Linked DNA regions of Homo sapiens: regions 2, 3, 4 and 5 are each linked to region 1. Evidence: promoter capture Hi-C in 16 types of primary human blood cells and fetal thymus (Javierre and others, 2016). All regions are on one chromosome and are shown on one strand. The core of a region is centred on a gene start or on the middle of the fragment in contact, and the rest is flanking DNA. Distances in the headings are between cores, read along the strand shown.

Region 1 (5,118 bases), core at 2,354-4,853:
TTTCATAGATTAGCTCAATTAATTCTCACAACAGCCCTGTAAGGTAGGGACCATGATCATCTCCAGAAGAGGCTAAATAAATTGCCAAAGATCACATATGTAGCAAGTGGTGGCAGAGTGAGGATTCATACCTGGACAGCTTAACTTTAAAGCCATGGTGCTAATGCATTCATTCATTCATCCATCCATTCATTCATCCATCCATTCATTCAATGATTATATTGGATGCCTACTACATGCTAAGAACTATGTTCAAGGTGCTGAACTACAGCTGTGAACAATGCAAGTACAAATACATGAAGCAGAGTTGGGGAGAAAGTAAGCTGGAGAAATAAGACATAAACTAGGTTAGATGGTGAACATGATTAAGGAAAAAACTAGAGCAGGGAGGAAAGAGAAATGTGCAGGGGGAAGGTCAATTCTGAGTGAGCCAACAGGCAAGGTCTCACTAAGAAAGCGGCATTAAATAAAGATTTGAGGAAGTGAGGGAGTAAACCTTGCAGCTATCTAAAAGGAGAGCATGAGAGGTAGAGGAGACAGCAAATACAAAGACCCTGAAGCAGGGGCAAGGCTAATGAGTTCTAGAATTAGCAAGGAGTCCAGTGTAACTTGAACAGAGTGATCAAAGAACAGAGCAGGAGGAAATGAGGTCAGAGAGGTAAACAGGCTGGAGTGCAGTGGCACCGTCTCGGCTCACTGCAACCTCCACCTCCCGGGTTCAAGCGATTCTCCTGCCTCAGTCTCCCTAGTAGCTGGGATTACAGGCATGCACCACCACACCCGGCTAATTTTTGTATTTTTAGTAAAGACGGTGTTTCACCATGTTGGCCAGGCTGGTCTTGAACTCCTGACCTCAAGTGATCCACCCGCCTCAACCTCCCAAAGTGCTGGGATTACAGGCGTGAGCCACCGCGCCCGGCCAGGATTCTTTTAATCAAGTATGATGCAGCCATCAGGGTTGGAGCATTCTAGGAAGAGGGAACAGCATGCACCAAGGCAACAGGAAAGCACATAAAAAAGGAGTTGCTGGAAGATTCATTTCAACCCACTATCAAGTAAATATTAAACTTACTGTATAAAAATGTTAGGGCCAGGAGGGGTGGCTCACGCCTGTAAACCCGGCACTTTGAGAGGCCGAGGCAGGAGGATCGGTTGAACCCAGGAGTTCGAGACCAGCCTGACCAACAGGGCGAAACCCCGTCTCTACTAAAAATACAAAAACTAGCCGGGCGTGGTGGTGGGCGCCTGTAATCCCAGCTTCTCGGGAGGCTGAGGCAGGAGAATTGCTTGAACCTGGGAGGCGGAGGTTGCAGTGAGCTGAGATCACGCCCTGCACTCCAGCCTGGGCGACAGAGGGAGACTTGGTCATGCTCCCTCCCCGCCCTCCGTCAGTTTTAGGAATAAATACCTTTTTATTTAAGCTAAAGTGTGGGTACACCCTTCCTCTAGGATTCTCCATCAAGGAATAAGAAGCCATATTAGGACAATTTAGAGGGCAGTTAACCCTAGTAGACATAGTGGTTCTTAAAAGGCTTGGGGCCTCAGACTGTACACAGGCTTCACATGGAATCTGATTTGTTCCTTTATCCCAGTCCCTCACCCAGAACCCGAATCTAGCCCTTCATGTTATAAAAAGGGCCAGAGGTCCAAAGAGGGTAAGTGCCTTGTGCAAAATTATTCAACTACTTTGTAGAGGATTTTAACTAGGGTTCAGTTAGCTCCGCCCACACTATAAAAGGCTCTTTCTAAAAAACGAAACATGATTAAGGGCACACGGCTCCAGCGTTAACAAAGCTCTTTGTTAGCTGGGAAATGCCCCCCTCCCCGACTCATCTGCTTATCATCTGCATAGAATTATGTACTCAAAAGCAGGAAAATTATTGAGAAAACCATTGGTCCCCGGCTGCAGACCCCAAGGTTGGGAGCTGGTTCCCGTTTCCTCCCAGAGCCGGCAGGGGGGGCACCAGGCAAAGTTTGCAAGACGCGCCTCCCTCCCACCCCTCCCCCTTCCTCGCCCAACTTCCCATAGCCGCGGCCTCAACTAAAAGTGGCCATTGACCTTTCAAGCTTTCGAGCAGTGATGCAATAGAATAGTATTTCAAAGAAAAATGCTTATCGAAATTTTGGATCCGGTTTTCCCGTGATTGTTAAGGGTTTCTTTTAAAAAGTAGGTCACATTTCAAGTAGGTCATATTTCGGGGGCGGGTGCGCAGACAAGGAGATGAGTTTCCACTAAGGCCAGGGGGCCTCCAACGGGGTTGGAGGTGAGAATCCCAGGTAGGGTAGAGGTGCCGAGATCCTTCCGAATCCCAGCCCTGGGGCGTCAGCCCTGCAGGGAATGGCAGAGACACTCTCCGGACTGAGGGAACCGAGGCCAGTCACCAAGCCCCTTCCGGGCGCGCAGGTAAGGGCGCCCCCTTAGCAGCCGGCGCAGGTGACCCGGGCGGGCCGCCGGGTCTACCGGAGACGTTGGAGCAGAGGGGAGGAGGAAGGGAGGAGCCGGGTGGGTGCGGGTGACAAGGAGCCGGAGCGCCAGGGGGAGGGGACTAAGGACGGCCGGCGCCGCTTAAGGAGGCGCTGCTCTCCCGCTCGCTGCCTTCCAGGACCTGATCAAGGGGACCGCCTCCGGTCCCCGGCCGTGGGCACCGGGACGAGCACGGCGTCCCCACGCCATCGATGTGTCTTAGAGCCGGAGAGTCTGGTTTCCGAGGACCCACAGTCGCTCCTGCACGCCCACCCCCCGCAAAAGTGCGGCCAGGAGGGTCGCATCGAGGGGGCGCCGCCGGGATGTTTAGAGGAACCCACCCCCGTGGCAGGCCAAGGGCCAAGGATCGCTATCCTTCCCTGAACCCGGGCGCTCAGCTGGCCCGGGTAGGGGGCAGGCTCCGGCCGCCGAAACGGGGTTGGCTGTAGCCGGTGGCCGGGGAGATCTCTAGCTTGCGCCCGAGCACCCCGGGGTGTGGGGCCAGAGGCAGGCCGACCCCGGCGTGCACACCGCCCGCCCTGCACCCGAGCGCTCTCACCCGGTCTTCCCTGAAGCCTGTGTATTGCGACCGAGCCTCTTTAAAGCAGTAGCGGGGCCCGCGGTCACGTGAGGCCGATTCCTGGAAAGTTCCTGGAAAGCCGCCTCCGCAGCAGCCGGGCGGGGCGCGAGCGGAGCGCTGACTGGGGAGGGAGGCGGGGAGCAAGGGAGGCGCGTCGGTCTGGGAAGTCGCGCGCACTCGCTGCTCCTGGGACCGACGTTTAACTCTTGCCAAGTCTCGTCGCAGCCGCCGCGGCTGGCGGGCCTTGGGCTTCCCCTGAAGCATGAGCCCTCTCGCCCGCAGCCACCCTCACCGCGTGGCCCGCGGACAGTGCGCGCCGGGGTCCCGGGTGCACAGCCTCAGGATACCCCGTGCCCGCAGCTCGGGCGCCCGCGGCAGGTACCGGTAGTGGGGGAAGCCCGAAGGCTCCGCCCCGAGGAGAGTTACCGGGGAGGGCGGCGAGGCGCGGCCGCGTGCGCCGGGGAGCGGCGGACGGCCTGGGCTTCCGCAGCTCGGAGCGCCGGGGAAGAGAGAGTCCGAACCGCGGCTCTGCCCCGCGGCCTAGCGTTGCTGCCTGCTTTCTCCAGCCCCTTCTCGGCGTCTGGAAGTGTCTGGAGTTTCTTTTTTTTATTTCCCCTAAACTGCCATTCAAATTAATAATCCTCCTAATAACCTGATCTCCCGCTCCTCCCCACCGGCCTGCCTCCCGCCCTCGCTCCTTCCTCCCTCCCTCCCTCTCTCCTTCCCACCTCCAGGGTCGCAGCCGGAGGGAAACCCGGCAGCAGTCCGAGAGTGGAGGTGTCCCAGCCCGTAGGGGGCGTCGCCGCGCGGTGGGGGATGGGGTCGAGGCAATGATCCTCGAGGCTTTTGTGTGCCCTCTGCGCACGGAACTCCGACCGCCGCCTCCGAGCGCGGGGCTGGTTGCATCCCCGGGCATCTCGTTCCCAAATTAAACGTTAACGGGGGAAACAAGGGCAGACGCCCCTCCTCTCCCGGGCCCCTCCCACCTCCCCTTTTCCCCCCACCCCCCCGCCCCATGTCCGCTGAGGAGGCTGCCTGGTGCGGAGGCGGCGGCGGCGGCCGCGGCCGAGGTCGAGGTAAGAGCGCGGCGTTGGTGGTTTGCATTTTCCGCAGCGCTCGCGACCGCCCGCTCGGCCCCGGCCTCGCCTCGGAGCCCCGCGAGGGCTGCGCGCTCGGGCCGATTCCTCGACAGCGCCCGCGGCGGCGAGAACCACCGCAGCCATCCTGGTCCGGGAGCGACCGCCGCGGCACCCCCAACCCCGCCAGAGCGGGCACCAGGAAGCGGGGGGAGGGGAGCGAGGAGCCTCCCGGGCGGAGATGCGGCAGCTCCCGCACCTCCGCACCCCGGGTTGGTGCCTCGGGGCCCCGCAGCGCTTTAGGGCGGAGAACCAAGTTTGTGTGGGTGCTTCTTCCTGGGGGCCCTCGGGCTGCGCCAGGTGTGAGACCGGAATGCCAATTTGGGGAATCTCTCCTGTTCTTTCCTTTTTAATTTTTTCTACTTGTCCTTGACAAGGGCCTATTCCCACTGGATCTGCAGGTGACTATTTGCTCTTCCTAGGTCGCCAGTCTTTGATTTCAGCTAGTGACCCTGGGCGGGAAGACACCCTGTTCACCCTCCTCCTGACCTCCGCCCCCCACCTCTTCAGCCAACTTTATCTTGGATCTCTGCTCTCTTTATCTTTTCTCTAGAGCTGGGCCAGGGCGCTAACTGGAAGCTTGGGGTTAAATGGTGCAGGAACGTAGAGGCGGAGGAGTCCCTGGGATTTTCCACGTCTATTTCCCCACCCCCACCCCAGCCGCAGGGGTCCAGTTTGGACTGACCCAACCTCCCGCTTTCTCTTTGTAGGCGATCAGTGGGTGACCGCGGCTGCGAGGGACTTTGTCATCCGTCCTCCAGGATCTGGGGAGAAAGAGCCCCATCCCTTCTCTCTCTGCCACCATTTCGGACACCCCGCAGGGACTCGTTTTGGGATTCGCACTGACTTCAAGGAAGGACGCGAACCCTTCTCTGACCCCAGCTCGGGCGGCCACCTGTCTTTGCCGCGGTGACCCTTCTCTCATGACCCTGCGGTGC
Region 2 (5,478 bases), core at 2,220-4,719, 890 kb after region 1:
TTTCAAATGAGAAAATAGGCCATGAAAGGTGAAGTGACTCACCCAGTCAAGCCTTGGTCTCCTGAATCACAATTCTCTTCCCACAAAATTACAGTGCCTAGGCCGGGCGCAGTGGCTCACACCTGTAATCCCAGCACTTTGGGAGGCCAAGGCAGGTGGGTCATAAGGTCAGGAGATCAAGACCATCCTGGCTAACATAGTGAAATTCCGTCTCTCTTAAAAATCAAAAAATTAGCTGGGCATGGTTGCATGTGCCTGTAGTCCCAGCTACTTGGGAGGCTAAGGCAGGAGAATCGCTTGAACCCAGGAGGCAGAGGTTGCAGTGAGCTGAGATCACACCACTGCACTCTAGCCTGCTGACAGAGTAAGACTATGTCTCAAAAAAAAAAAAAAAAATTAGAGTACCTATTAAATTGTGCTTAGTGATCTCAGCTTTCTATGAAGCTCTAGAAGTAATACAAAAATGTTATAAAGAACCATTTCAACTTCATCCACTCCAGCTCTGGCTGGCTATATCAGTTGTAGAGAAGTCTGTTATTACATAATACTTTTTCTGCCCAGAATAATCTTTAATTGAACCAGTATTTTCACGTGTCCTTCACACAAAAAATAATTCAATACATACTTATTGAGACATGAAGCCAGCTGGGATTCTGGGTCCGGTGTGGACTTGGAGAACTTTTCTGTCTAGCTAAAGGATTGCAAATGCACCAATCAGCGCTCTGTGTCTAACTAAAGGTTTGTAAACGCACCAATCAGCACTCTGTAAAAACGGACCAATCAGCACTCTGTAAAATGGACCAATCAGCTCTCTGTAAAATGGACCAATTAGCAGGATGTGGGTGGGGCCAAATAAGGGAAGAAGAGCTAGGCACCTGAGCCAGCAGCAGCAACCCACACGGGTCCCCTTCCATGCCGTGGAAGCTCTGTTCTTTTGCTCTTCGCAATAAATCTTGCTGCTGCTCACTCTTTGGGTCCACACTGCCTTTATGAGCTGTAACACTCACCACGAAGGTCCGCAGCTTCACTCCTGAAGCCAGCGAGACCACGAACCCACCGGGAGGAATGAACAATGCCGGACGCGCCACCTTTAAGAGCTGTAACACTCACTGCGAAAGTCTGCAGCTTCACTCCTGAAGCCAGCAATACCACGAACCCACCGGGAGGAATGAACAACTCCGGACGCGCCACCTTTAAGAGCTGTAGCACTCACTGCAAAAGTCTGCAGCCTCACTCCTGAAGTCAGCAAGACCATGAACCCACCAGAAGGAAGAAACTCCGGACACATCTGAACATCTGAAGGAACAAACTCCGGACACACCATCTTTAAGAACTGCAACATTCACCACGAGGGTCCGCAGCTTCATTCTTGAAGTCAGCGAGACCAAGAACCCACCAGAATGAACCAATTCCGGACACATTATCATGCATCTCTATGTGGAAAACAATGTGAAAGAAGTTATAATTCATCAGTACTCTAAAAAATATCCTTAAGAGCATATATTGCATGCCCCTTAAGTTTAACAATATCTGAAATAGCTGCCTTAAAACAAAATGCAATCACACTTGAGAGAGGCTGAATATGAACATCAGAGATAGGCAATGCAACTTCATCAGGAAAATCCCTATAGTCCAATGCTACTGTTTTCAAGGGTTGCTATATTATACTGCAATTGTGTTACTGGGCAACAACTCAGAAGCTAGAATGGCAAATTCACTCAAGAAGTAACTGAATCAAACGAATATTTATGAAAGCATTCTGAGACTCAACTTCACTTTCTATATCTTCAACTGAAGTAACTCTTTGTTATAAGCATTAGATACAGGATTTTTGGTGAGACTGTAAAAACTACATGGACATTTTATAGACATATTTTGAGACAGAAGATAGGTGCTTTCCAAAAGGGAATGGCCAGGTTTAGGTTCCTACTAACTCTGAATTTTAATCCAAAAGCAATCTGAAGTCACAATATACAGAAGGCAAATAACTGGGCATTTCCTTAATTTCTTCCATCCTGGATTATAGCTCAGTTAAAAGAAATAGTAGGCCGGGCGCATTGGCTCACACCTACAATCCCAGCACTTTGGGAGGCCAAGGTGGGTGAATCACTTGAGGCCAGGAGTTCCGAGACCAGCCTGGCCAATGTGGTGAAACCCTGTCTCTATTCAAAATACAAAAAAAAAGCCAGGTGTGGTGGCATGCACCTGTTAGCCCCAGCCACTTGGGAGGCTGAGGCAGGAGAATCACGTGAACCCACGAGTTCAAGGTTGCAGTGAACAAAGATTGCACCACTACGCTCCAGCCTGGGCGACAGAGCAAAACTCCATCTCAAAAAAAAAAAAAAGAAAAAAGAAATAGTACTAGACTTGACAGTCAGTGATCTCTCCATGACCTAGAGAGGGCAGTCCTGATGAAAAAAATATAATTAATAAACTGATATTCTACTAGGAACCAGGAAATTGACCAAACTCCCCAAGCCCACTGAAGAATAGTGCCAGCATTCCTGAGAGTCCTTACTGCTGGTATTGCCATGGGAAATTCTCAAATACTCACTTTCTAGGAACAGAATCTTTATTTCTGATTCCGTGAATTCCCACTCTTCAATCTTTTTTATAGTTTACTGTTGCCATTTCCCCTTCACTTACTCTCTTCTCTCAACAACCTTACTTTCATGATACTTACAAAAGTGGGGGAAAGTAGAAATGCCTATCTGTCATTGTATTAGTCCATTTTCATATTGCTATAAAGAACTGCCTGAGATTGGGTAATTTATAAAGGAAAGAGGTTTAATTGATTCACAGTTCCACATGGCTGGAGAGGCGTCAGAAAACTTACAATCATGGCAGAAGGTGAAGGGGAAGCAAGGCACCTTCTTCACAAGGTAGCAGGAAGGAGAATGAATGCAGGAGGAACTACCAAACACTTATAAAACCACCAGATCTCATGAGAACTCACTGTCACGAGGAACAGTATGGGGGAAACCGCCGCCATGATCCAATTCCCTCCACCTGGTCTCTTCCCTGACACATGGGGATTATGGGGATTATAATTCAAGGTGAGATTTGGGTGGGGACACAAAGCCTAATCATATCAGTCATCTTTAAGAAACATTTATTCAGCAACTTGTATTTGGAAAAGACTAAGGATACAGCTCATCGAGATCTGAAGTCCTGCCCTTAATAAGCTTACAATCTAGTTAGGAAGTCAAGAAAGCTAAAATAATACAATAAAAAGTATAAGTATCAAATAAATTTAACTCACAAATACATACTATTCCTATGTATGTATGTATGAGGTCATGGTGGAGTTGAACCTTATAGAAAAGGTACAATTTAGATTTTAAGAAAGAAGGGAATAAGATCAGGTCACGGGGGATAGAAAGATATGCAGACTAATATGGAAAGGATAAAGTACAGAGCAGGTTTAGGGGATAGTGAAGAAACCAATCTGGGCAGAGACACCTTTTCCATAAAGAACATACACTTGAAAAGGCAAGGTGAGAGGATTTCAAATAATTCACCTTAAGTCAAGAAACATGAACTTGGGTTAAAAGGAAGTTTTTTACACAGATTTACACACATTCCCTAAAAGCACATAGGTTAAACAATGTGGGCAATTTACTTATGGAACCTAATATGTATGACAAAATTAAAAGCAAGCTCATCTACTTTTAGGCAAAGAGACAGTACCTGGGGGTGGGGAAATTCTGACAATTCACTAAAATTCACTAATCTTTCTGTTAAGATTTCACTCTAAGCTTCTTGAATTAGAACATCCCATGACATAATGCTGATTTCTGATTACTAAGGATTATACGAGTCATTCTTGATTTGTCTCCTCCATCTTGCCCAACTTTTGAATATTTCATTACTTCAACATCAGCATATAGAAAAAAGGAGGAGAGAACTAAAATTAAGTCCATGGATTTTAGCAATACATAAGGGTATCTGACATAAAGAACATTAAACTTCAAGTTCCAATTCCCATTATTAATAGATTTCAAAGAAGTCATTTAGTCTCATCATGTCTCAAATTTTCTCACATACTTGCTTACTTGAAAGGTTATTGATTGAAAAGATCATTCAAAAAGTGCTCTAAAAACTAACAACTTGCCATAAAAATTTTATCATTAAGGGTTCAATAAGAGGAGACAGTGAGGTGACTGGTAAACCAAGGATTAAAAACTACCTGTGAATAGGCCAGGCACGCTGGCTCACACCTGTAATCCCAGCACTTTGGGAGGTCAAGGTGGGCAGATCGCCTGAAGTCAGGAGTTCGTGACCAGCCTGGGCAATATGGTGAAACCCCATCTCTACTAAAAATACAAAAATTAGCAGGGCATGGTGGCATGCACCTGTAACCCCAGCTACTCGGGAGGCTGAGAGGAGAGAATCACTTGAAACTGGGAGGCGGAAGTTGCAGTGAGCTGAGATCCCACCACTGCACTCCAGCCTGAGCGACAAGAATGAAACTCTGTCTCAAAAAAAGAAAAAAAAAAAAACTACCTGTGAATAATCAGTGTTTCATTCTCCCAGTGCTGCATGGAATTCTAAATTGTATTTCACTATTATTTGAGAATGTTCTAAATACAGTCCGCGCACTTCATCTGATCTGGAAAGAAAACACTCAAAGTAAGGGGAATACCCAGCATACTCTGTCCTAAATAACCAAAGGACAACTCAAAACCATTTGCAACTCTCAGGAGAGTCCTGTGTGACACTTATAATTTAAAGCATTCTGGCCTGGTGCGGTGGCTCACACCTGTAATCCCAGCACTTTGGGAGGCCGAGGTGGGCGGATCACCTGAGGTCGGGAGTTTGAGACCAGCCTGGCCAACATGGTGAAACCCCATCTCTACTAAAATAAAAAAATTAGCCGGGCATGGTGGCACGCACCTGTAATCCCAGCTACTCGGGAGGCTGAGGCAGGAGAATCGCTTGAACCCAGGAGGCGGAGGTTGCAGTGAGCCGAGATCGCGCTACTGCACTCCAGCCTGGGCGACAGAGTGAGACTCAGTCATAAATAAATAAATAAAGCATTCTAACAATTCTGAACAAACTGAGTTTGAAATCAAACCTCAATACAAAAGGTGAGTATTAATTCTAACCACTTACAGGCTAAATTCATAAATATGGAAAATTCTAAATCCAGGTAACTGTAGGATAGATACCTTTAATTGTGTTTTAGTTAAATGTCAGACTTGTTTACAGACATGTTGCTTGGTAACAGAAGCACTGCTTTAACAACCCACTCTGTTTTAGAGCTGCTTAAAGTCTGAACAGATTATGAAGTATATATCATATACACGAAATTCAGACAAGTCTTTCCTTATCCTAGAGATCTGTAAGATTTGAAAGAGCTTCCTCATTTCAGCTAACTAAAGGCTTTACAAATACTTAGCAGTGGATATTCTTAAGAGCAAAATGCCCATTGATTATGGTCAAAAGTTGGACACTGAGGATTAACCAAAGTATTTA
Region 3 (5,035 bases), core at 2,181-4,680, 510 kb after region 1:
TAAGGAGTACTAACCATACACACTGCCTCTGGAATCACTTTCTGATATCTTCCCTTTTGCTTTTCTGGTAGTTTTCCAACTACTCTTTCACATTGCCTTTTCTACTTCTATATTTTGGGCCTTATAATTTCAACCATATCCTATAATTACAAGATCATTTGAACCAACACCAAACGTCCCAATCATTTTCCTTTCCACTACATAACAAGACTCAGACAGCCTACCATTTCTCTTAAGATAATATTTACATCTTTGGTCTGCGTCCAGTACCCAGGTCCATGTGCCTGTGGATGTGTCAGTGCAAATAGCTCTTGCCTTGTCCCTTCTCATTAACATGAATGGCAAAAAGGATTTGAGAGAAGGAATATTGGGTATTCCAGGAAATCTAAGCTCTAAATCTAAGTTCTGCTTGCAGGTCTTTATGTAATGGAAACCTGTTTCGCTTTGAGTTTCTTAGCCACAAAATGGGAATAATATCATGTGTTTTTAGGACATCTCAAAAACTGTTTTTTATACATGAGCAAACAAGGAACGTTAAAATGTTTGTACATTTCATTAAGCTGTTTATTAGTATTTGTAAATATCGCATTCAAAGGCTTGAGGCAAAAGTTACAAACTGGTAACTTGAGGGACCACAATGAGTCAATAGAAGTGTTTTGTTTCTCCAGTGATGTTATTTTTAGAATTTAATCCAGTTACTAAGATGTTTCACATTGGGAGACTTCACATTAAAATTTTGGCTTCCCTTTAAAAATCTCAGGATTAGGCATCCTAAGCCCACTGATATGGTTTGGCTCTGTGTCACTACCCAAATCTCATCTCAAACTGGAATCCCCATGTGTTGAGGGAGGGAGGTGCTTGGATGAAGGGGGCGGCTTCCGCCATGCTGTTCTCATGGTAGTGAGTGAGTTCTCGTGAGATCTGATGGTTTTTAAAGTGGCAGTTTTTTCCTGCACTTGCACTTCTCCCTCCTGCCGCCATGTGAAGAAGCTGCCTGCTTCCCCTTCACTTTCTGCCATGATTGTAAGTTTCCTGAGGCCTCCCCTGCCATGTGGAACTGTGAGTCAATGAAACGTTTTTCTTTTATAAATTACCAGTCTCAGGAATTTCTTTATAGGAGTGTGAAAATGGGCTAATACACCCCCACTGCTGTTTGGCAGGAACTGACCAAAGCTGAGCAATGATCACTTCCAAGTAAAGCCATAAGAGCATTCGAGTTTGCCACAGTCTCCACCACTCCCTATTTTATCACATGTAATCTGATATAGTTTAGATGTCCCGTCCAAATCTCATGTTGGAGGTGGGGCCCACGTTGGAGGTGGGGCCTGGTGGTAGGTGTTTGAGTGTTTGGGTCATGGGGGCACATCCCTCATGGCTTGGTGCTGTCCTCACAATAGTGAGTTCTTGTGAGATCTGGTTATGCAAGTGTGTGGCACCTCCCTATCACTCCCTCTTTTGCTCTTGCTATGTGATGTGTCTGCTCCCACTTTGCCCTCTGCCATGATTGAAAGCCACCTGAGGCCACCCCAGAAGCTGTGCAGATGCCAGCACCATACTTCCTGTACAGTCTGCAGAACCATAAGTCAATTAAACCTCTTTTCTTTATCAATTACCCAATCTCAGGTATTTCTTTATATCGATGCCAAAACAGCCCAACACATAATCTTTGCCATAGTCCCTACTACTTCCTGTTTTATTACAGCCAGTCTGCTGGACTCACTTAAGTTACTGTCTGGTTCCCAGAGGCATTTGAATTTGACTACCCCTGTTTTAAAGAAGTATTACAGAGCATATAGTTGATTTATCAGTCTGCAGCTATCAGATTGATCCTGTTCACAAATAGTTCTAAAGAAGAAAATCCATAGTATTTTGCAAGCCATTCAAACACTAAACCTTTCTCTTCTATCCAGAAAATTTTCCCCTCACTATAAATAGGCCAATAAGAGCAATGTAGGCTTAGAACTAAATGGCATCTTATAGCTCATCTGGTCCAACCACCTTATATAACATTTGAGAAAACTACAGGCCTAGATTGTGAAGATGCCCAATAGCTAACAGGGACGAGAACCAGCTTCCCACTGGAAAGCTTCCTGGAACTTCTCATTCTTTCCAAATTAGGCATAGAAAATAGCTGCTTATTTTACTTTGTGAAAGCATTTTAGGCTTGGACTCAAGGGCAGGAAGTGTTTTTTTCTCTTGTTTTAGATTCTCAGGAAACTTATTTTCCTAACCTTAATTACCATGAAGATTATCTGTTGAACCCTCTATTCATTTCCTGGGGCTTCCATAACCAAGTACTACAAACCAGTTAACTTAAAACGATGGAAATTCATTCTCTCACAGTTCTGAGGGCTAGAATTCTGAAATCAAGGGGTCAGCAAGGCCATGCTCCCTTCCAAGTCTCTCAGGGAGGACCCTACTTTGTCTCCCCCTGGTTTCTGCTGGCTCCTAGCCACCTTTGGCATTCCTCAATTTGTAGTTGCATCACTCCAATCTCTGCCTTTATCTTCACATAGTCTTCTTCCTTGTGGCTCCACGTTTCTGTATCCTACTCTCTGTCTCTTATAAAGACATCAGTTGGCCAGGTGCAGTGGCTCATGCCTGTAATCCCAGCACGATGGGAGGTTGAGGCAGGTGGATCACCTGAGGTCAGGAGTTCGATACGAGCCTAGCCAACATGGTGAAACCCTGTCTCTACTAAAAATACAAAAATTAGCCAGGCATGGTAGCAAGCGCCTGTAATCCCAGCTACTTGGGAGGCTGAGGCAGGAGAATTGCTTGAACCCAGGAGGTGGATGTTGCAGTGAGCTGAGATTGCACCATTGCACTCCAGCCTGGGGGACAAGAGTGAGACTTTGTCTCAAAAAAAAAAAAAAGACGTTAGTCATTGGGTTTAGGGTCCACCCTGACCCAGTATGACCTCTGAGATGCTGAGATGGTTAATTTTATATGTCAAACTTGCCTGGGCTTACGGATGCCCAGATAACTGGTAAAATACGATTCTGTGTGTGTCTGTGAGGGTGTTTCCAGAAGGGACTAACATTTGCATTGGTGAACTGAATAAAGCAGATGGCCCTCCCCAACGTGGGTGGGCATGATCCAGCAGAACAAATTGGGGAGGAAAGGTAAATCCACTCTCCTGATTGGGCTGAGACATCCATCTTCTGCCCTAAGACATTGGCCCTTCTGGTTCTTGGGCTTTCAGATTTGGACTGAAACTTTATTAGTCCATTCTCATCTTGCTATAAAGACCTAAGACGGGGTAATTTATAAAGAAAGGAGGCTTAATTGACTGACAGTTCCACAAGCTATACAGGAAGCATAGCTGGGGAAGCCTCAGAAAACTTACAATCATGGCAGAAGGGGAAAGGGAAGCAGGCACGTCTTACACGGCCAGAGAAGGAGGAAGAGAGCAAAGCGGGAGGTGCTACACACTTTTAAACAACCAGATTGCGTGAGAATTCACTCACTATCTTGAGAACAGCAAGTGGAGAGTGTGCCTCCATCATTCAATCACCTCACACCAGGCCCTTCCTCCAACACTGGGAATTACAATTCAACATGAGATTTGGGTGGGGACACAGCCAAACCACATCAGGGACTGGCACCATTGCCCTTCATTCTCAGGTCTTCAGCTTTGGGCTGAATTACACCACCAACTTCCCTGGTTCTCTAACTTGCAGATCATGGGACTCCTTGGCCTCCATAACTGCATGAGCCAATTCCTATACTAAATCTCTTCATATATGCACGTATATATATACAGCTGGCCGTCTATGTCCATGGATTCTGCATCCATGGATTCAACCAACCACAGATCAAAAATATTTGAGAAAAAAATGCATCTGTACTGAACATGTATAGACTTTTGTTTCCTGTCCTTATTCCCTAAATAAAACAACTATTTATGTAGCATTTACATTGTATTAGGTATTATAAGTAATCCAAAGATGATTTAAAGTATACAGGAGGATGTGCATAGGGAAGATGGCAAATACTATGCCATTTTATATCAGGGACTTGAGCAACTGCAGATTTTGGTATCCAAGGGAGATCCTGGAACCAATCCCACACAGATACCAAGAGATGACTATATATATAGAATTGGTTCTGTTTCTCTAGTTTTTTGTTCCACTACACACAGATGAGTAATTGGAAAGGGAAGAGTATATTAACAGCCTTTTCAGATCATGGTGAAGATTCTGCTGTAGATTATACCAAAACTTGACAAGTTGTAGTTTCTTAAAGGAAAATTGCCAGCTGGGCACGGTGGCTCACACCTGTAATCCCAGCACTTTGGGAGGCCAAGGTGGGCAGATTACCTGAGGTCAGGAGTTTGAGACTAGCCTGACCAACATGGAGAAACCCCATCTCTACTAAAAATACAAAATTAGCTGGGTGTGGTGGCACATGGCTGTAATCCCAGCTACTCAGGAGGCTGAGGCAGGAGAATTGCTTGGAACCAGGAGGCGGATGTTGTGGTGAGCTGAGATTGTGCCATTGCACTCCAGCCTGGGCAACAAGAGGGAAACTCCCTCTCCAAAAAAAAAAAAAAAAAAAAAAAAAAGGTAAATTGCCATATGAAATCTGAAAACATCAATGAATGTTTCATACTCAATTACTTTTTCAAATTTTGTAACATTATGCACTGGTCATTTGGAAAATATTGTTTTAATGAGTTGTGCAGACCTTCCAGATGTTGACACATTTCAATATATAATATAAAAATATCACCTTCCAAAATATCACCACCAATTTCATTCTAATTTCCTTTGAAAGCTTGAATTTTATCATTGGCATCAAATATTATCTTCCTTGACACGATTAACTCATATTGTCATATTGTTTTCCTTCACTGGAAAAACTCATTTCATTTTCTGAGACCATTTCTATCAAATACCCAAACTTGAATAACTATAATTTGTCTGTCAGTTTTTATTTCAAGCAAAAATAATGTTCTGTGAAAAAAAACCAAACAGCTAATTTAGCTGGCAACTCAAACAATCGCATAAGTGCTTTTCTGCAAGACAACCAT
Region 4 (5,180 bases), core at 211-2,710, 960 kb after region 1:
ATCTCAAAAAAAAGGAAGGAAGGAAGGAAGGAAGGAAGGAAGGCAGGCAGGCAGGCAGGCAGACATGGTCGAGGTAGAGGTGGAGAGTGGGGGTGAGGAGAGGTGTCAGAGGTTGGGAGTCGGTATTGATCCAGACGTCTCAGGGGGCAGAAGTCTCTGAGCAGAGGAAGGGCACTTAAGATGAATATTCTAACCCAATACTTGTGTGGGAGCAGAAGAACGAACTACAATTACAAATTTGATGAAAAGAGAAACTCTTGGCTTTCCCCACCATTATCTGAGGTACCCAAGACACTTCTGCAAGACTGAAGTCCCAAAGAACCATGTGATCATCCCACACACATAGGAACTAACTGTGCAGTGTAAAAAGGCAGGCTTGTAGTCTTTCACCCGTGGCAGAACATATATTTATTGATTCACCTTTGAGTAACAGGTTTAGTAAAGATTGTCAATTCTCTGGGAAGATAAACATGAAGTAATTTTTTTACCCCAATAAAATCAATCAATTATGCTCTGTGGAACCTCTCTTTCCCACTGGGTAGCAGGCTCCATTAGCTACATATATCCCAGTCTGATTCTACAACTTTTCATTTTAGTTATCACAACAGTTTCTCTCCAGTTATTAAGATTCAACTCTGTTCAATGTAAAATTTCATTCTTATATTGGATTCAAAGCTTTCCTCCTCGCCTCTAGTGCAGACTAGACTCATGGCTTTAAAAGATTTGGGAGTGGCGGGGTGGAGACATGGTCTACTTCTCTCCCACCCGATTCTTGCCTGTGCTTTCCCCTGTAGCTTTGGGGGAAAAGGAAGAAAAGAGAAAGTTGAATATGTTCTTTTGTGATTGCCTATGGCAGAATTGTTGGTCTCCATGGCTTAGCAAGTGGTCCCCAAGACTTGCCCTGGCACTAAATGCCCAAGCAGCTCCCAGGGGTCCCTTGGGACATGTGGCCTTCCTCTTCCAGCTGACCCCAGCTGATGGCCTCGTGCAACATCTCTCCAATGCCTACTTCTCTTTGCCCAACACGTGACCATCCTCTGCCAAGTCCCCAGCTCCAAAACCTGAGCCTGTGGGCAGACTGATACATTCTTTGTACCTTTTAGCAACCAGGAGCTTGAGAGAATAATTCTACTCATACCTCACATCATCCCATTACATTTCCATTTTATAGAAACTTCCTTCTGACCCCAGTGCCAGCTTCCTATAGATCTCAGAGCTGTCGATGGCCCCTGACTCCACATACTAGTGTGGGCTCTTGATGATCCAAATGTCCCCAACATAGAAGTCATATTATATGTACTCCGGCCAGTTGAGTTATGAAGCATTTGTCTCACCCTAAGATCTTAAGATTCAATCGAGATATGAAGTCACCTCTCTAAGGCCACCCACCAAATCAGCACCATGTTCAAATTAGAATGTAAAGTGTCAGAATCTATGAGCAGGTTTTTTTCCATTGGGCTAGGATTGCTTAGGCTTCTAGGAAAACAGGAGCTAAGTCCCTGGGCTTTGGGGTCAGATGGCTCTGTCTGAGGCCTGGTTGAACCACTTCCTAGCTGGGTAAATGTTGTTGTTGCTGTTGTTGTTGTGTGAGAGAGAGAGTCTCACTCTGTTGCCCAGGCTGGAGTGTAGTGGCTCGATCTCAGCTCACTGCAACCACTGCCTCGCAGGTTCAAGCGATTCTCCTGCCTCAGCCTCCCGAATAGCTGGGATTATAGGTATGCACCACCATACCCAGCTAATTTTTGTATTTTTAGTAGAGACAGGGTTTCACCATGTTGCCTAGGCTGATCTCGAACTCCTGGCCTCAAGTGATCTGCCTGCCTCAGCCTCTCAAAGTGCTGGGATTACAGGTGTGAGCCACTATGCCCAGCTCACCTAGCTGGGTAATTTTGAACAACTTTCTTAGCCCCTCATAGTTTCAGTTTCCTCAACTGTAAAATATGGATAATAATAATAGCATCTACTTTACAGAATCGTTTTATTGCCTAGATGAGATTCTACAAGGGAAGCCCCAGTGTCTGGTGCCTAAGGAGTTCTCATGAATGGTAGTTATTGTTCTAAAAAAGAGAGCATCCTCAGGCTACTGATAATTCAAATCTGTCCAAATGTCGCTGCCTCGCAGATGGTTGAATTGTGTGTCGTTGGGGTTAATTCCCAAGCAACGTACCCAGTGTGCTCTGTTGCCTCCACCTCTGTGGGGACTGTCCCACTCAGGGGCTGGGACGGCATGGGGGCAGATGTGAGGAGAAGCTTCTACAGCTACTGTGTGTGCATAATCACATTAATTTGCAAAAAATTAAAAATAAAATAGAAAATAAATTGGCTGGGTGCAGTGGCTCACACCTATAATCCCAATGCTTGGGAGGCTGGGGCCAGAAAGTTGCTTGATCCAAGGAGTTCAAGACCAGCCTGGGAAACATAGTGAGACCCTGTCTCTACCAAAAAAAAAAAAAAAAAGAAAAAAAATTAGCCAAGTGTGGTGGTGTGCACCTGTAGTCCTCGTTACTGGGGAGGCTGAGGTGGGAGCCTGCAGTGAGTTATGATCGTGCCACTGCACTCCTGCCTGGGCAACAGAGCAAGACCCTGTCTCAAAAATAATAATAATAAGGCTGAGCACAGTGGCTCACACCTGTAATCTCAGCACTTTGGGAGGCCAAGGGGGGTGGATCACCTGAGGTCAGGAGTTGGAGACAAGCCTGGCCAACATGATAAAACCCTGTCTCTACTAAAAATACAAAAATGAGCAAGGTGAGGTGGTGTGCTCCTGTAGTCCCAGCTACTGGGGAGGCTGAGGCAGGAGAATCGTTTGAACCCAGGAGGCAGAGGTTGCAGTGAGCCGAGTTTGCGCCACTGCACTCCACCCAGCCTGGGCAACAGAGTGAGACTCCCTCTCAAAAAAATAAATAAATAAGGCCAGGTGCAGTGGCTCACGCCTGTAATCCCAGCACTTTGGGAGGCCGAGGCAGGTGGATCACAAGGTCAGGAGATCGAGACCATCCTGGCTAACACGGTGAAACCCGGTTCTACTAAAAATACAAAAAATTAGCTGGGCGTGGTGGCAGGCGCCTGTAGTCCCAGCTACTCAGGAGGCTGAGGCAGGAGAATGGCGTGAACCCGGGAGGCGAAGCTTGCAGTGAGTCAAGATCGTGCCACTGCACTCCAGCCTGGGCGACAGAGCGAGACTCCACCTCAAAAAAATAAATAAATAAATAAATAAATAAATAAGAATAATAAAGAAAAAAAGAAAAAACAAGTGAACTTTTTTTTAATGTTTTCCAGCTGCAGAGGCCATGTACTAGAAAACTCTTGAAATATTATTCAGTGTTTCTCAATACTTAAGCTGACTGCCTTCTGACAAATTGCCAAGTAGTGGTCAGAATTTAATTCACACCAAAAGAGAACACAAAGATTATGAGACAATTGACCCTATAAAAATGCATTCGTGGCATGCTCTTTAGTCACTTTGCATCTGCTCTCAACCCACCCTCCAGGGCTCTTATGTCACACTTATTTCCAGATAAATGGCCCAATTAGAAACCTATTGGCTAAGGTTGTACTAAAGGCAATGACCCTGCACACCAGAATCTCGTCCTTCTTAACATCACCCTTAAGCCAAAGCACAGTGGCGTGTGCATTCTCATTCCTGGACAAACTCTGCCCCCTGGCGCTGACTCACACACTTGCGCACCGGCGAGGAGGGTCTCCTTTGTTAGGTTTCCTCATGGGACAGGGATAGAAGAGCCTGTCACCCCCACCTGCCGTCTCCCCAAACCCCTAATTGCCATCAGTCTGCTCCACACAGATAATCCACCAAAAGGCTCCGAGTTTGTTTCTGCTCCGTGTATTTGAAATGAGTCTACCACATCAATCTCATTCTGTGTTAAAAAGTGTTTCTCAGCAGATGAGTAGGGATAAAATCTCCATGGGAGAAAGTGAAGGAGATGCCTGATCTGTCCAGGGCTTCCCGGGTCAGTGGCGCTTCGGCCAGAAGCCAGGCAGCAGGCCTTGGGCAGGTGGCTGGACCCCTTCTGTGCCACGGTATCTTTGTCTGTGAGATGAGGGGGGCAGTCCCCACCATACTGTGTTTACACAATAGAGGGAGAATTTAGGTGGTGACTGTGCTGTAGTAAAAAGAACAGAGGGTGTGGAAATAGGGGATTTGGGTCTAAACTCTGGCTCCAGGCCAGATGCAGTGGCTCACACTATAATCCCAGCACTTTGGGAGGCTGAGGCAGGAGGATCGCTTGAGCCCAGGAGTTTGAGACCAGCCTGGACAACACAGTGAGACCTCATCTCTACAAAAAATACAAAATTAGGTGGGCGTGGTGGTGCCTGCCTGTAGTCCCAGCGACTCAGGAGGCTGAGGTGGGAGGATCACTTGAGCCTGGGAGGCAGAAGTTGTGGTGAGCCATGATCGTGCCACTGCCCTCCAGCCTGGGTGACAGACTCCCTCTCAAAATAAATACATAAGTAAGTACAATAAATAAATTAATTAATTAATTAATTTCAGCTCTAGCTGTGGAACCTTGGACTAGAAATTCACTGTTCTCACTGTTCTCTAGAAATTCACCATTCCCTTGAGTTTCCTATCTTATAAAATGGGATAGTGACTTGCCCTGCTAGTCACTTTCTCGAGAAGAGACACCTCCAACTGCAGCGGGTGTGGCGCAGCCTTTCCCTCCAGGCTCCAGGAGCCCCTGCCTCCCAATCGGAAGGAGAGTTGTTTCAGATGAATATTCCTAGGTTTTAGCCCAGGAGGTTGAGTCAGAATCCTGCCTCAGAGGCGTGGCAGGAGAAACAAAATAATGAACCCCCAAAGGTGTCCATGTCCCGGTTCCCAGAACCTGCAAATATGTGACCTTGCATGGGAAAAGGGCCTAACAGATGCGACTAAATTAAGAATCTTAAGATGGGGGGATTATCCTCGATTACCCCGGTGGGCCCACTGGATCATGGGGGTCCTAACAAAGGGAAGAGGGAGGCAGGAGAGGCGGAGATGTGATGAGGAGAAGGGATTGGAGGGAAACACCACGCACTGAGGATGAAGGTGGCCTTGAACGCTGGAAAAGGCGAGGAAGAGATCCTCCCCCAGAGCCTCCAGGAGGAACTCAGAGCTGCCAACACCTCACTCCCAGCCCTGCAAGACCCACTTTAGGACTTCTGACCTCTAAAGCTGTAGA
Region 5 (5,155 bases), core at 2,620-5,119, 550 kb after region 1:
TATCAGGAATTCACATTCAAGGAGGTCAGCGAGGTCAGCTAGCATTATATCAGAGAGGGCCAACTCCAGAGGCAGTACTTTTCAATCAACAACTGATGATTTCTTAATTAGCACTCATCACTTTCTGGCCGTTGGCTTAGGGAATTTTTAATTGCATGATGCCTGCTAAGGGACAGAGAATCCTGCCTCAGAAGGTTTGCGATCTTTTATCCAGGTGGATCAGAGCACAGCAAAGGACAGAGAGCTGGAACTTCATCAGACCTACAAAACTGCTTGTTGCCTGTGTGGCTAAAGAATTTCTCTCTAGGCCGGGCACTATGGCTCACACCTGTAATCCCAAGCACTTTGGCAGGCCAAGGCAGGAAGGTCACCAGAACCCAGGAGTTCGAGACCAGCCTAGACAAGATGGTGAGCCCTCGTCTCTATTAAAAATAAATAAATAAATTAGCCAGGTGTGCTGGTAGCACATGCCTGTAGTCCCAGCTACTCAATAGGCTGAGATGGGAGGATCGCTTGAGCCCAGAAGGTCAAGGCTGCAGTGAGCCGTGATTGCACCACTGCACTTCAAGCTGGGCAACAGAGCAAGACCCTGCCTCTAAAAAAGTAAAATATATAAATAAAATAAAATTTTTTAAAAAGAATTTATGCTTACAACTAGAAGCATGGCAGAATTTGGCTTGAACCTTACCTTTTGTTCAATGAGGACATGAGGTTTAGGGGAAGAGATAACCCTCATCCCTCATGTTCTCTACTGCCTGCTGTTACCCTCCAAAAAGAACCTACGTGTAGTGCATGACCAAAGTGACCCATGTCAATTCCCAAGAAGGGGTGGGACTCCAGGCGCCAGGGCCCTGCCCATTTCTGGCCTTTGATTCTCTGGTGATTCTCTTCCCACCCAGCCCTAATGGGCAGGACCTGCAAGGCTCACAGATGTGACAGTAGCTGGCAGAGGTTGGCTGGCATCCTTAGAGAGCTGATATGTGAAGGGAAGCTCTCAATGGTCTTAATTTGGTTTTGAAATATTTTCCATTTGACCCTGGCTATTCCCAAGGTCCGGGGAAGGTCCTCACTAACCTAAGTGCCACCAGAAAGTCCTGTCCAGGGCTCCCATAGTCCAGCTTTACACAGAGAGGGACTCCCACCACTGCCTCTTGGTTCACCTCCTACTGAATCAGAGAGAGGGGTTGGGGCTGGGAGAAGTGGCAGGCTGGGAAGAAGAGTGAAACAGCCTAGCTGGCCCAGCCTCCAGGTGCACTGGCATTAGAACACTGAGAACAGACTGAAATCTGGATACATTGTGGGAAAAAATCAGCCTGTCCACCCTTAATAAGGCCTGGAGCAGTGCTGCCCAAAACAGCTTTCTAGCACCGGCAACCATGGTAGCCACTAGTCACAGGCAGCCAGTGAGCATTCAAAATGTGACTGGTAGGAAGCAGGAGATGAATTTCAAATTGCATTTCATTTTAATTTATTTACATTAAATAGCCACATGAGACTAATGGTTACTGTAGTGGACAGCACAGGCCTAGAGCCTGGCTTTTCTCCCTATTCTCTCAGGACCTTCTCTTAATTCTCAAATAGTCCGTTCTATGGCCAGCCCCCTCTTTTTCTTTCTTCCTTTTTCCTCCCTCCCTCCCTCCCTCCCTTCCTTCCTTTCCTTCCTTCCTGGTCTCATTCCGTCAACCAGGCTGGAGTACAGTGGCATGATCATAGTTCATTGCAGCCGCAGCCTGCTGAGCTCAGGTGATCTTCCCACCTCAGCCACCTGAGTAGCTAGGACTATAAGTGCATGCCACTATGCCAAGCTAATATTTTTTTAAGGGGGTGTTAAATTATTATTTATTTATTTTATTATTTTTTAAATTTTACAATTTTAATTGTTGTGGGTACATAGTAGGTGTATATATTTGTGGGGTACATAAGATGTTTTGATACAGGCATGCAATGGGAAATAAGCACATCATGCAGAAGGGGGTATCCATCCCCTCAATCATTTATTCTTTGAGTTACAAACAATCCAATTACACTCTTTACGGTGTTTTTTTTTTTTTCTTTTTGAGACAGGGTCTCACTATGGCACCCAGGCTGGAATGCAGTGGTATGATCACAGCTTATTGCAGCCTCGACCTCCCAGGTTCAAGTGATCCTCCCAGCCCAGCCTCCCAAGTAGCTGGGACCACAGGCATGCACCATCATGCCCGGCTAATTTTTTTATGATTTGTGGGGATCTCACTATGTTGCCCAGGCTGGTCTCAAACTCCTAGGCTCAAGTGAGCTGCCCACCTCCGACCTCCCAAAGTGCTAAGATTACAGGCATGAACCACCACATCTGGCCTCCAATATCTTGTTTTGACCTTAGATCCCTCTCCTTTCTTCAACTCTCTGGAATATTCTGGCTTGGGTGGTTCAAAAGAAGGAAACCAATGCTTCCCAAATGTTTCCCCATTAGAGATGGATAAAGTGTCAGGCTACCAGAAAATAGGGTCTTTAATGGCACATGGGAGTCATAGAATGCACATGCCCCATTTGGAACTAATACATCCAATGGTGCTATTCAAAGTAATCATAATAATGTGCTATACTCTGCTTGTATATGTGTATGGATACATCATCACAATGCATCCTGCATGTAAAGTGACCGGAACAACAATTAGGCTTCTCATTTTAAAAATTAGAAAACCAAAGTCAGCTTAGCTAAGAGAATCACATTGCAGATAATGATAGAGCTGGGACCAGCACCAGGTGTTCTGACTCCTAACTTCTCTTGGAATATTTGAGTCAGCCCTGATTAGAGAAGAAACATGACAGAAGAAGAGAGCAGACCATAATCACCCCCAATAGACTGGCCATGTCTCCAACAAGGCTCTTTTCTTTCAGGCCTGCAGGGAGTCATTTTGTACACAGTGCACAGCATATTATTTCCTAGCATTGTGGAAGCTGGAATGTGTTAGGGAATTTAAGCAGTATCTGTCTTCCAGAGCTCTAATGGGCCATCCTGATCGTTCTTGCATTCTAACTGTATTTGTAGGGATCTTATCAACGAATTTCCTTCTCATAGGATCTCTGCTCTTTGCACAATTCAGAGGTGTCTTCTTATTTAATACAATATACAACACCATGGTATTACTCTAATGGATGTTCTAAACTGAACAAGCCAAGCTTTTTTTTCCTTATGCTTCAGTTAAATTTGTTTTCATATCATTTTTCTGGATCCTCTGATTAAGCATGTCAGATTTTTTTAATTTTATTATTTTTCTGGATCCTCTGATTTTTTTATTTTATTATTTTTCTGGATCCTCCAATTATTTATTATTTTTCTGGATCCTCCGATTTATTTATTTATTTATTTATTATTTTTCTGGATCCTCCAATTAAGCACGTGTCAGACTAAGGGGTCCAAATTTTGGCTGTATATCTGAATTCATGGCACTTTATTTTAATGTAATTAAATTAATTAATTTTGAGACAGGGTCTCACTCTGTCGCCCAGCCTGGAGTGCAGTGGTTCACTGCAACTTCCACCTCCTGGGTTCAAGCAGTCCTCCCACCTCAGCCTCTTGAGTAGCTGGGACTACAGGCGTGGACCACCATGCCCACCCTTTTTTTTTTTTTTTTTTTCCTTGGTGGAGACAGGGTTTCATCATCTTGCCCAGGCTGGTGTCGAACTCCTGGGCTCAAGTGATCCTCCTGCCTCAGCCTCCCAAAGTGCTGGTCTCATAGGCATGAGCCACCACGCCTAGCCCTCATGGCACTTTAAAGAAAATACACATTCCAGGCTGGGTGCGGTGGCTCACGCCTGTAATCCCAGCACTTTGGGAGGCCCAGGCAGGTGATCACTTGAGGTTAGGAGTTACAGACCAGCCTGGCCAACATGGTGAAACCCCGTCTCTACTAAAAATACAAAAACTAGCCAGTTGTGGTGGTGGGCACCTGTAATCTCAGCTACTTGGGAGGCTAAGGTAGGAGAATTGCTTGAACCTGGGAAGTGGAGGTTGCAATGAATCAAGATCACGCCACTGCACTCCAGCCTGGGCGACAAGAGTGAGACTCCATCTCAAAAAAAAAAAGAAAGAAAGAAAAATACACATTCCAGGTTCTATCTCTTGAGGAGCTGGGATTGAGCCTGGGCATCCACATTTTTCAAAGTTCCCCCACATGATCTCAGTGCTAAAAACTGAGACTCATGGAATGTTGGACCAAAGAATCAAGAGACCCATATTCTGGTTCCTGACTTTCCTACACACTGGCCTCTCTGAGCCTGTTTCCCATTCTGTAAAATGGAGAGATAGGAGCCCTGTCCTACTTTTGTGAGTTTAAAGCATAAGAACTTGTGTGAAAGAATTTTGACAAGGAACTTTTGTATTTATGGTGGGAGGGATCTGGTGACCAGCAGTCAGACACCACCTGCAAACAGGCCTGCGATCTGGTCACTTGGTGACATTTCCACTGGGTTCTCGTGGTCTGCTTGCCTCCATCACACTATGCTAAAAATGGGTAGAGAGTGGGTGGAGCTCAGAATACTTTAACTCCAGTGTAATAGTGTGGGCAGCTTCCACTTAGTTAGGTACTTCTGGACAAATGGAAGCTTGTCTGCATGCAGCTATATTTATTTCCAAAATAACTGGTGAGATACCCCCACGAATTTGAGAACATTCATTTCTGTTTTACCTGTTTTGAGACCTTTAGACCATGAGATTAGAACGCCCCAGGCATGATCAGGAGGCAGAAGTACACAGGTCGTCTATTCCCAACCTCAGAGCTGATGCTCAGGGTAAATCCACAGCCATTCGATGTAGGGACGTTTTAATTTGGGAAATCAAATGCAGGAAAGATATTACCTTACTGTTCATTTCAAGCATCTCACACACACCATTAAATGCCCCAAACTAGGCTACTATTGAACCTTAACCACATACAAATTACGTATTTACCCAAATACTCTAACATGCTAACAATCCTTTCTTTTGAAACTTCCTGGTTTAACCGATCTGACAAACAGATCCTTCATTTCTGTTCGCTCTATTTTATTCATTCAGTGTATCACAAGTTGACCATAGCAAGACGAGAAATGCATTAAGGATCATGATTTTGCAAAGCATTAATAAGGATACTGGGACAAGGAAGTTAAGCTTTTGATGGCCTTGATACAACTATTT

The links. The method cuts DNA at HindIII sites, captures the fragments that hold promoters and counts their contacts. A CHiCAGO score of 5 or more calls a contact.
Region 2: a contact is called between a fragment that was not itself captured here and the fragment with the promoter of SOCS2-AS1 in region 1, in 5 of 17 cell types (fetal thymus, naive CD4 T cells, non-activated CD4 T cells and 2 more). The highest score is 8.4, in fetal thymus.
Region 3: a contact is called between a fragment that was not itself captured here and the fragment with the promoter of SOCS2-AS1 in region 1, in 15 of 17 cell types (M0 macrophages, megakaryocytes, non-activated CD4 T cells and 12 more). The highest score is 11.1, in M0 macrophages.
Region 4: a fragment that was not itself captured here is called in contact with the fragment with the promoter of SOCS2-AS1 in region 1 in 3 of 17 cell types (M0 macrophages, M2 macrophages and M1 macrophages); the score reaches 7.1 in M0 macrophages.
Region 5: a contact is called between a fragment that was not itself captured here and the fragment with the promoter of SOCS2-AS1 in region 1, in 15 of 17 cell types (fetal thymus, M2 macrophages, non-activated CD4 T cells and 12 more). The highest score is 13.8, in fetal thymus.

What each region holds. Positions count from the first base shown.
Region 1 is chr12:93,567,795-93,572,912 of GRCh38, forward strand. It overlaps SOCS2-AS1 (SOCS2 antisense RNA 1), which reads right to left and starts at 3,604. Exons shown (of 4, transcript NR_038263.1): 1 at 3,471-3,604. SOCS2 (suppressor of cytokine signaling 2) reads left to right here and starts at 4,881. Exons shown (of 2, transcript NM_001270471.2): 1 at 4,881-5,118. The coding sequence starts at 5,104. RefSeq lists silencers at 2,648-2,697, 2,758-2,947, 3,318-3,597, 3,958-4,007, 4,018-4,327. The HindIII fragment of the contact is 2,692 bases long and covers 2,066-4,757 here.
Region 2 is chr12:94,453,717-94,459,194 of GRCh38, forward strand. The region is part of intron 1 of CEP83 (centrosomal protein 83); the gene reads right to left. Among named protein-coding and RNA genes, the nearest start is that of CEP83, 3.4 kb to the right of the region's middle. RefSeq lists a silencer at 2,079-2,228. The HindIII fragment of the contact is 573 bases long and covers 3,184-3,756 here.
Region 3 is chr12:94,081,985-94,087,019 of GRCh38, forward strand. No RefSeq gene overlaps it. Among named protein-coding and RNA genes, the nearest start is that of PLXNC1, 64 kb to the right of the region's middle. The HindIII fragment of the contact is 2,693 bases long and covers 2,085-4,777 here.
Region 4 is chr12:94,529,336-94,534,515 of GRCh38, forward strand. All of the region lies in intron 2 of LOC102724960 (a long non-coding RNA gene), which reads left to right. Among named protein-coding and RNA genes, the nearest start is that of MIR5700, 30 kb to the right of the region's middle. The HindIII fragment of the contact is 1,575 bases long and covers 674-2,248 here.
Region 5 is chr12:94,117,632-94,122,786 of GRCh38, forward strand. The region is part of intron 1 of LOC124902986 (a long non-coding RNA gene); the gene reads left to right. Among named protein-coding and RNA genes, the nearest start is that of PLXNC1, 28 kb to the right of the region's middle. The HindIII fragment of the contact is 1,425 bases long and covers 3,158-4,582 here.